Regions from separate parts of the Homo sapiens genome. Here region 2 is linked to region 1. Evidence: promoter capture Hi-C in 16 types of primary human blood cells and fetal thymus (Javierre and others, 2016). All regions are on one chromosome and are shown on one strand. The core of a region is centred on a gene start or on the middle of the fragment in contact, and the rest is flanking DNA. Distances in the headings are between cores, read along the strand shown. Region 1 holds the start of TMEM185A (transmembrane protein 185A). Region 2 overlaps EOLA2-DT (EOLA2 divergent transcript).

Region 1 (5,939 bases), core at 1,428-3,927:
TCACCAGTGCCTTGCTCTTCAGAGGAGAGGCATCCTATATCACCACATTGAAGCCAATGTGAATATTGAATTGGACAAGCCACCAGCTTATCAGAAGGGTGGTACAAATCCAAGTTAGTCCTTAAAACCATGGTCAGATATACACTGATTCTTCTGGAACACTGTAACCTAAGCCCACCCCAAAGTCACCAAGAATATGCTGTCTGGCTTATTTGGGGGTCATACTTTTTCAATCCAGAGCCATTTCTTTCCTTTGAGTGAAGAATGTTGGGAGCCCCTAGCAAGATAGCCCTGGAATTTTTTGGCAAGTCAAGGAAAAGATAAAGTCAAACTCTGCTAGTGGAGAAGATGTGGGTGTCATCTTCTCCACTAGTCATACTTAGCCTTGATGTATCACCTTTCTTCTGAGAATGTAGAAACATTTAATAAGTGGTAATTAAGCTTCCCAGCACTCCTGGTGCCTGCATATGACCCAGGGTCTTTCTTTAATGTCAGGATCACTTGTGGGTCTGTCTACACAGGTCATTGAGGCTTTGGACCTCCATCTAGGGTGGGACACTGAGTGAGGGCTCTGAAGTGAGCAGCAGGTTGTCAGTAGGGTCTTTTGCACTTGCTGGAGAGAGGACCAGATGGCCATCTGGTTTCTGGCTTTTTTTTCCCCATGAGAGCACCAGTAGCATAAAGGGTTGGGCTTCCAGAATCAGTCCAGGTAATCCACCTCTTGAAGACTGGGGATGTGAAGCCTTGGGAAAGTCCAGTTCTTCCTGTATTTCCTCACAGACAGGTTCATATGTTCCTCTTGGCAATTTACCTTGTCAGAGCAAAAGAACACACTGACAAGTAATTTGTGCATCAGTGTCCTGTTGCCTTTGCTAGATAGCTTCCAGGGCCTGGTCAACTCTGGAAGAACTGCTAAAATTGAACTTGTGGGCCTGCAGAGCAGTGGTTCAGCTCCCAGACTCCCTGGGATCTCATTAAAGTAGCGTCTGCCCTCAAGATTCTGGACTCTGAGGAGCCTGCCTGGTCTCTATCTATGAAGCTCTTGAAAGGGCAGTGATGCCTGTTATTCAAGTGTCTGAACTGGCAGACCATCTTCTCATGCCTGCTTGGGGCACGGTCACTGGTAATGAAGATGGTGCTGTCCAATCTGACCACTGGCAAGCACCTCTTTCTAACAGTATGGGCTGCAGGTTCAGCTAGACCCTGAGTTTCATCTGTGCTCCTTCACCCTTACTTGCTGGCTCGCTCAGGGCCTGTTATACAAGCTTCTCTGCGCCTTAATTCCTCGTCTGTATTTGAGTGTTCATTGAGAACCTCCTCTGGGCTACACATTGGACTTTACCCAGAGGATGGGAAAGGAAGATGGGTGAAAAAGTCTGGGACAGGGTCCTGGTGCTTCAGCAGATGAAAACTTGATTTGGATTACTCAACCTTAAAATCAGCTCATATAATAATATCCATTTCCCAGTGGGTGTTGGGAAGCTTAATTACCACTTATGATATGTTTTTACGTTCTCAGAAGAAAGGTGATACATCAAGACTAAGTATGACTATCGCAATTGTGATTCTCTCAAGCTGCCCTTGGGGCTAAACAGTATAAAATTGTCATTTGTGAAACTCTGCTATTGCAACAAAGGATGACTATTATCCATAATGATAGTAGACTAATGTTTAAGGCATTGTTGTGCTCATGAAAACTTAAATCTGCCCAAAGTGAAGATGGTAAACTAGGTCACCTGCTATGAGCTTGTCCTGCTCTTGGATTCCAAAAGCAAACAAAATCCTTGAGGAGGTTGACACCTGAAAGAGTACCAGATAGCAACAGCATTCTTTGTACACCTAGCATGTACCAGGCAGTGTGTTATGCACACGATCTCACTGAATCTTCCTAACACGCTTAGAAAAGAGGTTTTTATCATTTCCATTCTGCGGAGGAGAAAAACTGAGACTCAAAGATGTTGACTTGCCCAAGGAAGATGAACCTGGTACTTGTAAGTAGGGCAGCCTGGAGTGGAGGCAGAGGTCAGGTGTGAAGTGACCACAAAGTTTAGACAGGATCCAAGGAGGCTCTGAACTGGGTTAGAAAAATGAGGATGATTTCCACGTCTCCTGCTTGAATACCCCCCTGCGTACGAATAGGCCTGCTGCTAAGGGAAAAAGGGAACCCAGGAGGGGAAGGCGGTTGGCACGGGAAGTGACTTTGGTGCTAGGTAACTTGAGTAGGGAATAGCCAGCATATCTGGACACGCTGGCTTGGGAATTGGAAGGGAAGTTGGGACCCAAACTTTGGAGTCGTTGACAGATGTGACAGGTGAAGCCTGGGATGACATCGCCAAAAATGCAACGTCTCACTCATTGTCACTACTCCCAGGGCTCAGTCGTCACTGGGGAAAATCTCCAGAAGGTAGCGCGGGCCAAGGTGACAGGTGTCTGCCAAGATCTGCCCGCCAGACTCCCGGGCGGCGCGCTCCCTCCCTGCAGGCCTTCAGCCCGTCAGCATCCCCTTCCTCGGGGCCCTGCTCACTCCCAGCCTCCATCCCCCTGCCATCTCCTCCGCCGGTCGCGTGCGGACACAAGGATGGGGACCTCCCAGCGAGGAGCGCTCTGGGCGGGGCTCCGGACGCATGCGCGGCCCTCGTACGGAAGCCCGGAAGGAGGGGCAGGGGGCGGTGGCTCAGGTTTCTCCGGGCGGCGGCGGCGGCGGCGGCGGCGGCGGCGGCGGCGGCGGCGGCGACGGCGACGGCGACGGCAGCGGGGACGGCAGCAGTAGCGGGAGCAGCAGCGTGGACGCGGCTGGCGCTGGCGCCATGAACCCGCTGTAAGGCGCAGGCTGTGCAGCACGGGGTGCGGGGGAGGAGGAGGAGGACGCCGCGGTGAAGTTCTCCGCCATGAACCTGAGGGGCCTCTTCCAGGACTTCAACCCGAGGTGAGGCGGCGTCGTTGGCGCCCCCGGGAGTCCGCGCTGCGGGCTCGGGCGCGGGCTGGTGTTCGGCTCCGGGGAGGCACGGCGGGCGAGATGCTGCAGCCCGAGGACCCGGGCGCCTGCCCGAGCCTCCCTGCGGGTGCAAGCGGTCCCCAGGCAAAACAGTCGGCCTCGGCGCCCGCCCGCTTCCTCCTCCCGTGCCCGGTGCTTTCAGCCCCTGCCCGGCCACGGCCGGAAGGGCCCGGCCGCGAGCCCCGTCCTGCCCCAAGGGAACCCCATTCTTTTCTGCTTGCTGTCCCTCATTGGTGTCCCAACTTCTTCGTCTCGGTTCCATCCTCTTCTGCGCCGCTGCGGGCCCTCCATTCTCCGCGTCAGGGCCGTCTCACTCGACCCAACACCCCTACCCCCACCCCAGCTGTTTCCTCCAGTTCCTCGCAGTCCTTGGGGTTTTCCTTGGGTTTATGCCCATCCCTCTCTTGTTTGCTTCTTTGTTGAACGGATACCTGAAACACTGTTGAATCCTTGGAGTCAGTGTCGGGGTATGGCAATACCTTATATAATGCATTTCTGGGTGAGCCTGATCATTTTCCATACTCATTTTCTCATCAGTCTTCACTACAAGTTTATTTGCAGGAAGTAGATATTGCTGTCCTTCTTTTCCAGATGGGGAACACCCAGTGGACAGTGTGGAGAAAACACTGGCTAAGCACTCAAGCGCCTGTCCTTGCACTTGCCCGACTGTTTTGTAACTGTTCTTTACCCCAGGCTGTGAGCTCCCTGAAGCTGAGACCATCTCCTGCTCATCTCAGTGTCCCCAGCGCCTCCCACCCACCGTATCTGGCACATAGTAGGCACATATAAAATGTTTGTGGAACTAAACTGAGCCCAAAGACTTGGATTGGAGACGAGGCCATATGTAACTGGGTGATTCTCTGCCCTTCTTTGGCCCTTCTGTAAAATGAGGAGTTGGCCTAACTGATCTCTTAAATGCACTACTCTCCGAAAGGAGTATCCGTTTCCCTTATTTGCCAGTTGGGAAGACGTGCTCAGTAAATATTTGTGTGCTGTAACCTATGTTAGGTGCTTTAGATGCTGGCGGTCTCAGCATGGGGTGAAGAAGGGCTTGTACACTTAAGATGCCTTACAGTACTGTGCAGTGCTGTACTGCGGGGGCCAACTCTGGGGACCTATGCCTTGGCTGCTTGTTGAGGATGAAAGGAAGTTTTAGGGGAGTATTTGTATGTTGAGGGTGCAGTCTCCCTAGGGATGGTGACATTTTAACTTGTGAGTCATTGTGACTTTGTATGTGCTCTTATTCCACTTTGAGTTCATGTTCTGGTTAGGAGTGCCAGTGTCTCTAACACGGTGCAGACATTATCATTGTTGGCTTCGAAGGCATAGAGGAGGTAACAGAACTAACTGCAGTCCCTTCCTCTGCTGCATCAGGGGGTTAAGATTGGTCTGCAGGGTAGTAGGGTTGGTGCTGTGGCTGGACAAGCCCTGTATGTCTTCTATTTGGAGATGGTGATAAGAAAGTTAAGTAAAAACTGAATTGTTTTGTGCCCTTGGGCAACTCACTTATCTATTGTTTTATCTGTAGAATGAGTATAATCTCTCAGTGGGGTAGGGAGGCCAATTAAGGATTGATTACAAAGTGCCTTACAAATAGAAAGCTACAGTGACTTGTTTGCAAGGTGACAGAGAATTCAGAAGCCTCAAGAAACTGCCTTAAGTGATCAAACAGGCTAACGGAGTTGCCAAAGCAAAATAGTGCTGCACTGATACTACCTTTAACCGTTTTTTCCTTTAGCCCTTTTCCCCCCAAAAAAATTAGTATATGAAATTACAGTGAAATACCTGGTATCTAAGCAGATTTATAGTAATTCTCAACATATTCATCAATCTCTTAATTCTACCTGCATTAAAATGTATTTCTACCTGAAAAGTTTAAAGGTCTTTTATACTGTGCCATTTTCCTGATTCATTGTTGCCAGAGGTAGTGAGTTCCTTAATTTTACAGATATTTCAAGAGGACATTGGCCAGGTATTATTGGTAAATCAGATTTGTTTTTTTAGCTGGTAGTGTTTCACCTCTCCTGAGCACTCCTAGTTTTTGACAGTGTGCTTTAGTCTCCTTCCATGCTGAGGAAGGCCTTCTCTATAGGAGAAAGAAAACTGAGGGGTGTACACAGGAAGTTACCTTATGCTGGGGACTCAAACCTTGATGCTACTGCTTTGCTCCCTGCCTCTATTTTTGAACCAATTCAACATCTCCCTCCTACCCCAGGACCTTGTCACACACTGTTCTCTTTACCAGGAATGTTTCCCTCTCTTTTCCTCTCCTCCAGACCTAGTGAACTCCTATTTATCCTCACTTGGCACTTGCTAAGGGAAGCATTCCTGACTTCCCTGACCAGATTTACTGCTCCCTGTTTCTACAGTTCCTGTAGTATTTACTACTCCTCCATCATAGTGCATATTTGTACCCTTGTGTCTGTCTGGATGCTTATTTGATTAATACCTGCCTCCCCCACTAAACTTTAAGCTCCATGGGGTCAAGGCCGTGACTGTGTCAGTATCGTAGCCTGCATACTTGGAATAGTACCTGGCTCAATAAATATTTGTGGAGTAAATAACTGAATAACTCTCCAGAGCCTATAAGATAAATCTAGAGCTGCTGCTTTCAATCACTGCTTTCCTGGTGGTCTGTGGCCTGGTTCTCTTTCTTCTCACACTCTTCCCACCTTCAGAGTGCAGCCATTGCTTTGGAGAGATGGGAGAGAACATGGCACTAAGGCAGAATATGGCTATATTTACTTTGAAGAGCATGTCTTTGTCATAGAAATAGTCACTGTCATGGTTTGGTGGGTCCCAAGGCATGGGTCATGGCTCCAGATCCCCTTTCCAGCCTTTTGGATCTTGGTAAGTCTGAACCCACTGCTGCGTTGGCAAGGCTCTGGAAACTATAGTGACAGAGAATGATTCACAAGTGTCAACACTCAGATGTACAGGGCTG
Region 2 (5,939 bases), core at 1,549-4,048, 320 kb before region 1:
GCAAATGGATCACTGACATCGCTGGTCAAAATGTAAAACTGCACAATCACTCTGGAAAATAGTTTGGCAGTTTCTTTTTTTAAAAAAAAAATTAGTATTATTATTTATTATACTTTAAATTCTGGGGTACATGTGCAGAATGTGCAGGTTAGTTACATAGGTATACATGTGCCATGGTGGTTTGCAGTTTCTTTAAACACTAAAAATGGATTGGCCAGGCACAGTGGCTCACGCCTGTAATCCCAGCACTTTAGGAGGCCAAGGCAGGCAGATTATGAGGTCAGGAATTCAAGACCATCCTGGCGAACATGGTGAAACCCTGTCACTACTAAAAATACAAAAATTAGCTGGGCATGGTGGCGCATGCCTGTAATCCCAGCTACTCAGGAGGCTGAGGCAGGAGAATCGCTTGAACCAGGGAGTTGGAGGTTGCAGTGAGCCGAGAATGCACCACAGCACTCCAGCCTGGCAACAGAACAAGACTCCATCTCAGAAAAACAAAAAAATATATTTACCAAATGACCCAGCAATGGCACTCTTGGGCATTCACCCCAGAGAAATGAAAACTTATGTTAATGTAGAAACTTGTATATGAATATTCACAGAAACTTTATTTGGAATAGCTCAAAGTGGAAACTACCAAAATTGACAATGCTTAAATTATAGTACATCCATACTATGAAATACTATCCAGCAATAAAAAGGAATGAACTATTGATACATGTCACAACTTGAAGGAACCTCCAGGAATTATGCTGAGTGGGAAAAAAAGCAAATATGAAAAGGAAACATACTATATAGTATGCTTCCATGTATATAACATCCTTGGAATAACAACATTATACAGATGGTAAACCAAATAGTGGTTGATAAGGGTAAGGGATGTAGAGTAGGAAGTGGGTGAGGCTGTGGAGAGGTAATATGAGAGGAATGTTGCGGTGATGGCACAGTTCTGTATGTTGATTGTCGTGGAAGCTACACAAAACTATACATGTGATAAAATTGCATAGAAACACACACACACAAGTATATGTATAACTGGTAAAATCTGAATAACCTCTGTGGATTGTACCAATGTCAATTTTCTGATACTAATATTGTACCATAGTTAGGCAAGATGTTAACATTGGGGAAGGGTGAGTGAAGGGAATACAATTCTTTGCAACTTCCTTTAAATCTATAATTATTTCCAAATAAAGCTTTTAAAATTAACCATAAGAAAACAAGCAACCCAATATTTTGAATGGACGAGAATATAAACAGAAAATTTACCACAGAAGTTAGATGGATGGCAAATAAGCATGTTAAAAGATGTTCAACATTAATAATCATTAGAGAAATGCAAATTATAACCAGAAAGAGATACCACTATACACCTTAGAGTGGCAAAACAAAACAAAAACACACACAGAAAAACTAGCAGTACCAGGTGCTGGCAAGAATGTGGAACAACTGGAACTCTCAAGCCCTCCTAGTGGGAATGCAAAATGGTATAGCCACTCAGCAAAAGTTTGACAAGTTCTCAAAAAGAACTATAACCCAGCAATTTACCAAGTAACCCAGCAATCCCACTCCTATTTACTCAAAAGAAATAAAAACTATGTTCACACAAACCCTGTACACAAATGTTTATAACAATGTATCCATAATAGAGAAAAAATGGAAACAAACCAAGTATCCCTCAACTATAGGACTCATAAACAAAATGTGATACATCTATACAATGGAATATGACCCAGCAATAAAAAGCAATGAACTTCTGGACTGGGTGCAGTGGCTCACGCCTGTCATCCCAGCACTTTGGGAGGCAGAGGCAGGTGCATCACTTGAGGCCAGGAGTTCGAGACCAGCCTGGTCAACATGGCGAAACCTTGTCTCTACTAAAAATATAAAAATTAGCCAGGCGCAATGGTGCACGCCTGTAGTTCCAGCTACTTGGGAGGTTGAGGCATGAGAATCCCTTGAATGTGGGAGGCAGGGGTTGCAGTGGGCTGAGATCACACCACTGCACTCCAGCCTGGGCAAGAGAGTCAGACTATCACACACACACACAAAGGAATGAACTACTGAAAACACAACAACATAGTTAAATCTCAAAAGCATTTTGCTACCTGAAAGAAGCTACATCCAAAAGGTTACAACCATATCATTCTGTTTCTTTGATAATCTGGAAAACTATGGGAATGGAAATTAGATCAGTGGCTGCCAGGGTTGAGAATGGAGAAGGGGATGAATGCCAAGAGGCGGTACAAAGCAATTTCTGAGGTGATGGAATTGTTTGGTAACTTTAGTGATGGCATTAGGCAAAAGCCATAAAACGGTACACCACACCAGTTTGCACTGTGTAAAAAAATAAGTAAACATGCCAAAAAAGGATCCCCCTGCATACCCACCTAAGTGACAACATGTGCTGTCAAGGACGGAGAGCAAATGGAACTCACACATTGCTGGTGGTAATGTAAATTGCTACAGCCGCTTTAAAAATCTGTTTTTCAATATCTGCTAAAATTAAACATATGCATATCCCATAAATCATCAATTTTACCTCTAGACATGTACATAACAGTAATACATATTCACCAAAGAAAGTAAATCCAAGCATGTTCATAGCAGCTTTGCTTGTATTACAAAAACCTGGGAACAATTCCAGTATGTACAAATAGCAGAATGGGTAAATATATCATGGTATACTGATAAAAATGGAATAGTATATGGCAATGAGAATAAAGTATTGCTGACATGACAACATGGATGAATCTCACAAGCAATATTTAATATAAAAATCCAGACAGTAATAAGATTACGCAGTGTACGATCTCATTTATATAAAGTAATAAAAAATGTTGCAAAATAGCGATTACCTTTGGGCAGAAGTAGTGACTTGGAGGGTATTACAAAGAGGTCCTAGCGGTGTTCTATTTTGTGATTTAAGTGCTGGCTATCTTGTTAAGTTGTGAATGTTCATCAGTGCATTCACTTAATATTTGGGCATGTTTTCTGTTTGCAAATTATACTTCCATTAAAAATGTTTTAGGCCAGGCATGGTAGCTCATGCCTGTAATCTCAGCACTTTGGGAGGCTAAGGCAGGAGGATTGCTTGAGGACAGGAATTTCAGACCAGCCTGGGCAACATAGTGAGATCTCATCTTTAAAAAAAATTTTTTTTTAATTTGCTGGGTGTGCTGGTGCATGCCTGTGGTCCTAGCTACTAAGGAGGCGGAGGTGGGAGGATCACTTGAGCCCGGAAGTCAAGGCTGCAGAAAGCTATGATCACATCACTGCACTCCAGCCTGAGTGACAAAGTGAAACCCTGTTTCAAAAAAAAAGTTTAAGAACTTTTAAATGTATGCTTCATTTTCTCTTCTTTTTAAAATTTAGGCTTGCTTATATAGCCAATTGCTAAAAATCTGTAACTAAAACCAAGACTACAGTAGCTCAATGCATAGAAGTTAAAGATAGATAAGGCAATTTTGTAACCTCGCCTTTTACTTTCTGTTTGTTGGCTTTTACATTACTTCAAAATTGTTAAGGAGTAATAAATGCCTGTCCACGTCCATTCCTGTCTGGCCTAGAACATTTAAACTGTCTATAAGTCTTTTGGCTGTAAGTCTCTTGGCCATAGAGATCCTACCAAGGGACAGGATGGACCTGGGGCAGGCAGCCAAACCACCTCCACAATGCTATGGGACAAAATAAAAGTTTGTCCATTGATGTTGCCTCTGGCAAATCCTGGCCAGAAGGAAAGAATGTAAACCAAAAATAAAATTCTAAGCTCCCCAACCACCTGAATGGACCCCTCCTCTTGGCCAAGGGCATTCCAAAGTTAACCTGAAAAACTAGTTCAGGACATGATGAGGAAGGGGGAGTCGGACATGCCTCATTACCATCAACATGAACACTGTCCTTAAGACTGATACAATAGACTCTTTAAGTCTAATAAGAAACATTTACAATCTATTCTCTCTGAAGCCTGCTACCTGGAGGTTTCATCTGCATGATAAAACTGTGGTCTCCACAACTCCTTATCGTAAACCAGACATTCCCTTCTAATGATTCCAGGTCTTTAGATAATAACTCAACCAATTATTAATACCAGTCAGAAAATTTCTGAACCTGCCTATGACCTGGAAGTCCTCCAACTTCCATTTGTCCTGCTTTTCCAGACCAAACGAATGTACATCTCACATGTATCAGTTGATGTCTTATATCTCCCTAAAAACCAAACTGTGGCCTGACCACCTTGGGCATGTCACCAGGACCTTCTTAGGCAGTGTCACAGGCATGTCCTTAGCCTTGGCAAAATAAACTTCTAAATTGATTGAAAAAAATTTTTAGGTTTTCTGATAAGATTGTCTGATTCCAAGGGAGAGGTGTGAGAATTATACATGAAAGCTTTTGTTCCCAATTGGACAGAAGGATGCAAGCGACTTTTGATCACCTGCTCTACCATGAATAGTGCCACGGGCTTCACAACAACCACGAGAGGTATGTATTTTATGTCCACTTTAGAGATGAAGAAGACTCAAGAACAAGAAGATTACTAGTTTCAGTTACAAATATATGATTCCAGCATTTCTAGAATGAAAAACTCAGGAAATATCTGAGAGAGAAAGGTCTATAAAGAGCACTAAATCCAGCCCCTTTATTTTACAAACTGGGAAAATCTGTCCCAGGAGGGAAAGGGACTAGTTCAAGACTACCCAACTACTCAAAGAGAAGGAACTCAAATTTCAATCTCTTGAGTGCCACCCAGTGGACAATGTACCATGACCGATATTTACAGACAAGTTACCAAAAAACTTTACAGAATAGGGGGAAAGAGCACTCATTAAACTGGGAATTGGAAGAACTGGATCCTGTCCCAGTTTTGCCAAGTAAGGTTAGCTTCCCCTCTCTTGGCTTTAATTTCCCCATCTGTGTAATATGAAGTGACAACAGGAAAACCAACATGAGGCAGCAAGTCTTGGATCCAAGACAGAGACAGATCCAGGTTTTGTGGGGCTTGAAGCTTGTAACATCTGGGGCCTTCTTTAAGTATAAGAATGCAAAATTACCAGTATAAAATTGGGAACAAAAGCAAATATTTAAAGTGAGAAAAAAAAAACAAAAGAACACACATTTGAAAACGTTGACAAATGTTAGAAACATCTGAAAATTTAGAAAAAAATAACATAAATAGCTACTTATCTTTAGTACTTAACTGCCTCATGCACTTCTATAGTATGTTATTCCTGCTTTTCTTGTTTGTTATAGTTGGAAACACAGGATTCAGCATATAGTTATAATCACAACCAAGATTTATTACAGCAATGTAGTTAGGGCACACAGCCAGATCACAAGCAGAAAAGACAGGCAAAGTTTGGAGGAGCCCATGCACAGACTTCCTTATGCTCTCTCCCTCCCATGAGGGGCCACACAGAGCACATGCTTCTCTCGGCAACAAATATGCAGTGGCACGTGTGATGTTTCTGGCCAGAGAAGCCCAGACTCATTGCCCACACTTTACACTGGTGTTTGGTAACAGAGACTTCCTCTGCCTAGCATGCACCAAAATTCCAGACTCCCAGAAGGAAAGCAGATATTCAGCATAAACTACGTTTTCTGTATCAACAGTCAAGGCACAGTGAGCCATCTTATCAGTTAACTGTTGACTAGGGAAATTCTGAGAGTCAAGTTTCCAGATGCCAGCAGGGAGCGTAACTTCCAAGCAGGTCTTTCTAAGGGTAGCAGTCACAGGAACTATGACTGTGCCCTTTCTAGCTCAGGACACATTTGATGCTGTGACTGTTTGGGAATTCAGTCCCGACCAATTTAAGAGGTTGTGTTTCTTAGCTGTCTCTGGCTCCTGGTTTGCGCAGTTTAATTCTGTGCCTGCCCAGCAAAACTCTTCTGCATACTACTCAATGTTTCTAGTCCTTCTACAGGTCCATGTCCTACAA

Evidence for each region. Contacts are between HindIII fragments. The CHiCAGO score rates a contact against its expected background, and 5 or more counts as called.
Region 2: a contact is called between a fragment that was not itself captured here and the fragment with the promoter of TMEM185A in region 1, in 1 of 17 cell types (non-activated CD4 T cells). The highest score is 5.0, in non-activated CD4 T cells.

The regions. Positions count from the first base shown.
Region 1 is chrX:149,628,530-149,634,468 of GRCh38, reverse strand. It overlaps TMEM185A (transmembrane protein 185A), which reads left to right and starts at 2,677. Exons shown (of 7, transcript NM_032508.4): 1 at 2,677-2,926. The coding sequence starts at 2,889. RefSeq lists silencers at 2,715-3,124, 3,135-3,184. The HindIII fragment of the contact is 7,464 bases long and covers 1,485-5,939 here.
Region 2 is chrX:149,949,721-149,955,659 of GRCh38, reverse strand. The region is part of intron 7 of EOLA2-DT (EOLA2 divergent transcript); the gene reads right to left. Among named protein-coding and RNA genes, the nearest start is that of EOLA2-DT, 14 kb to the right of the region's middle. The HindIII fragment of the contact is 3,193 bases long and covers 1,202-4,394 here.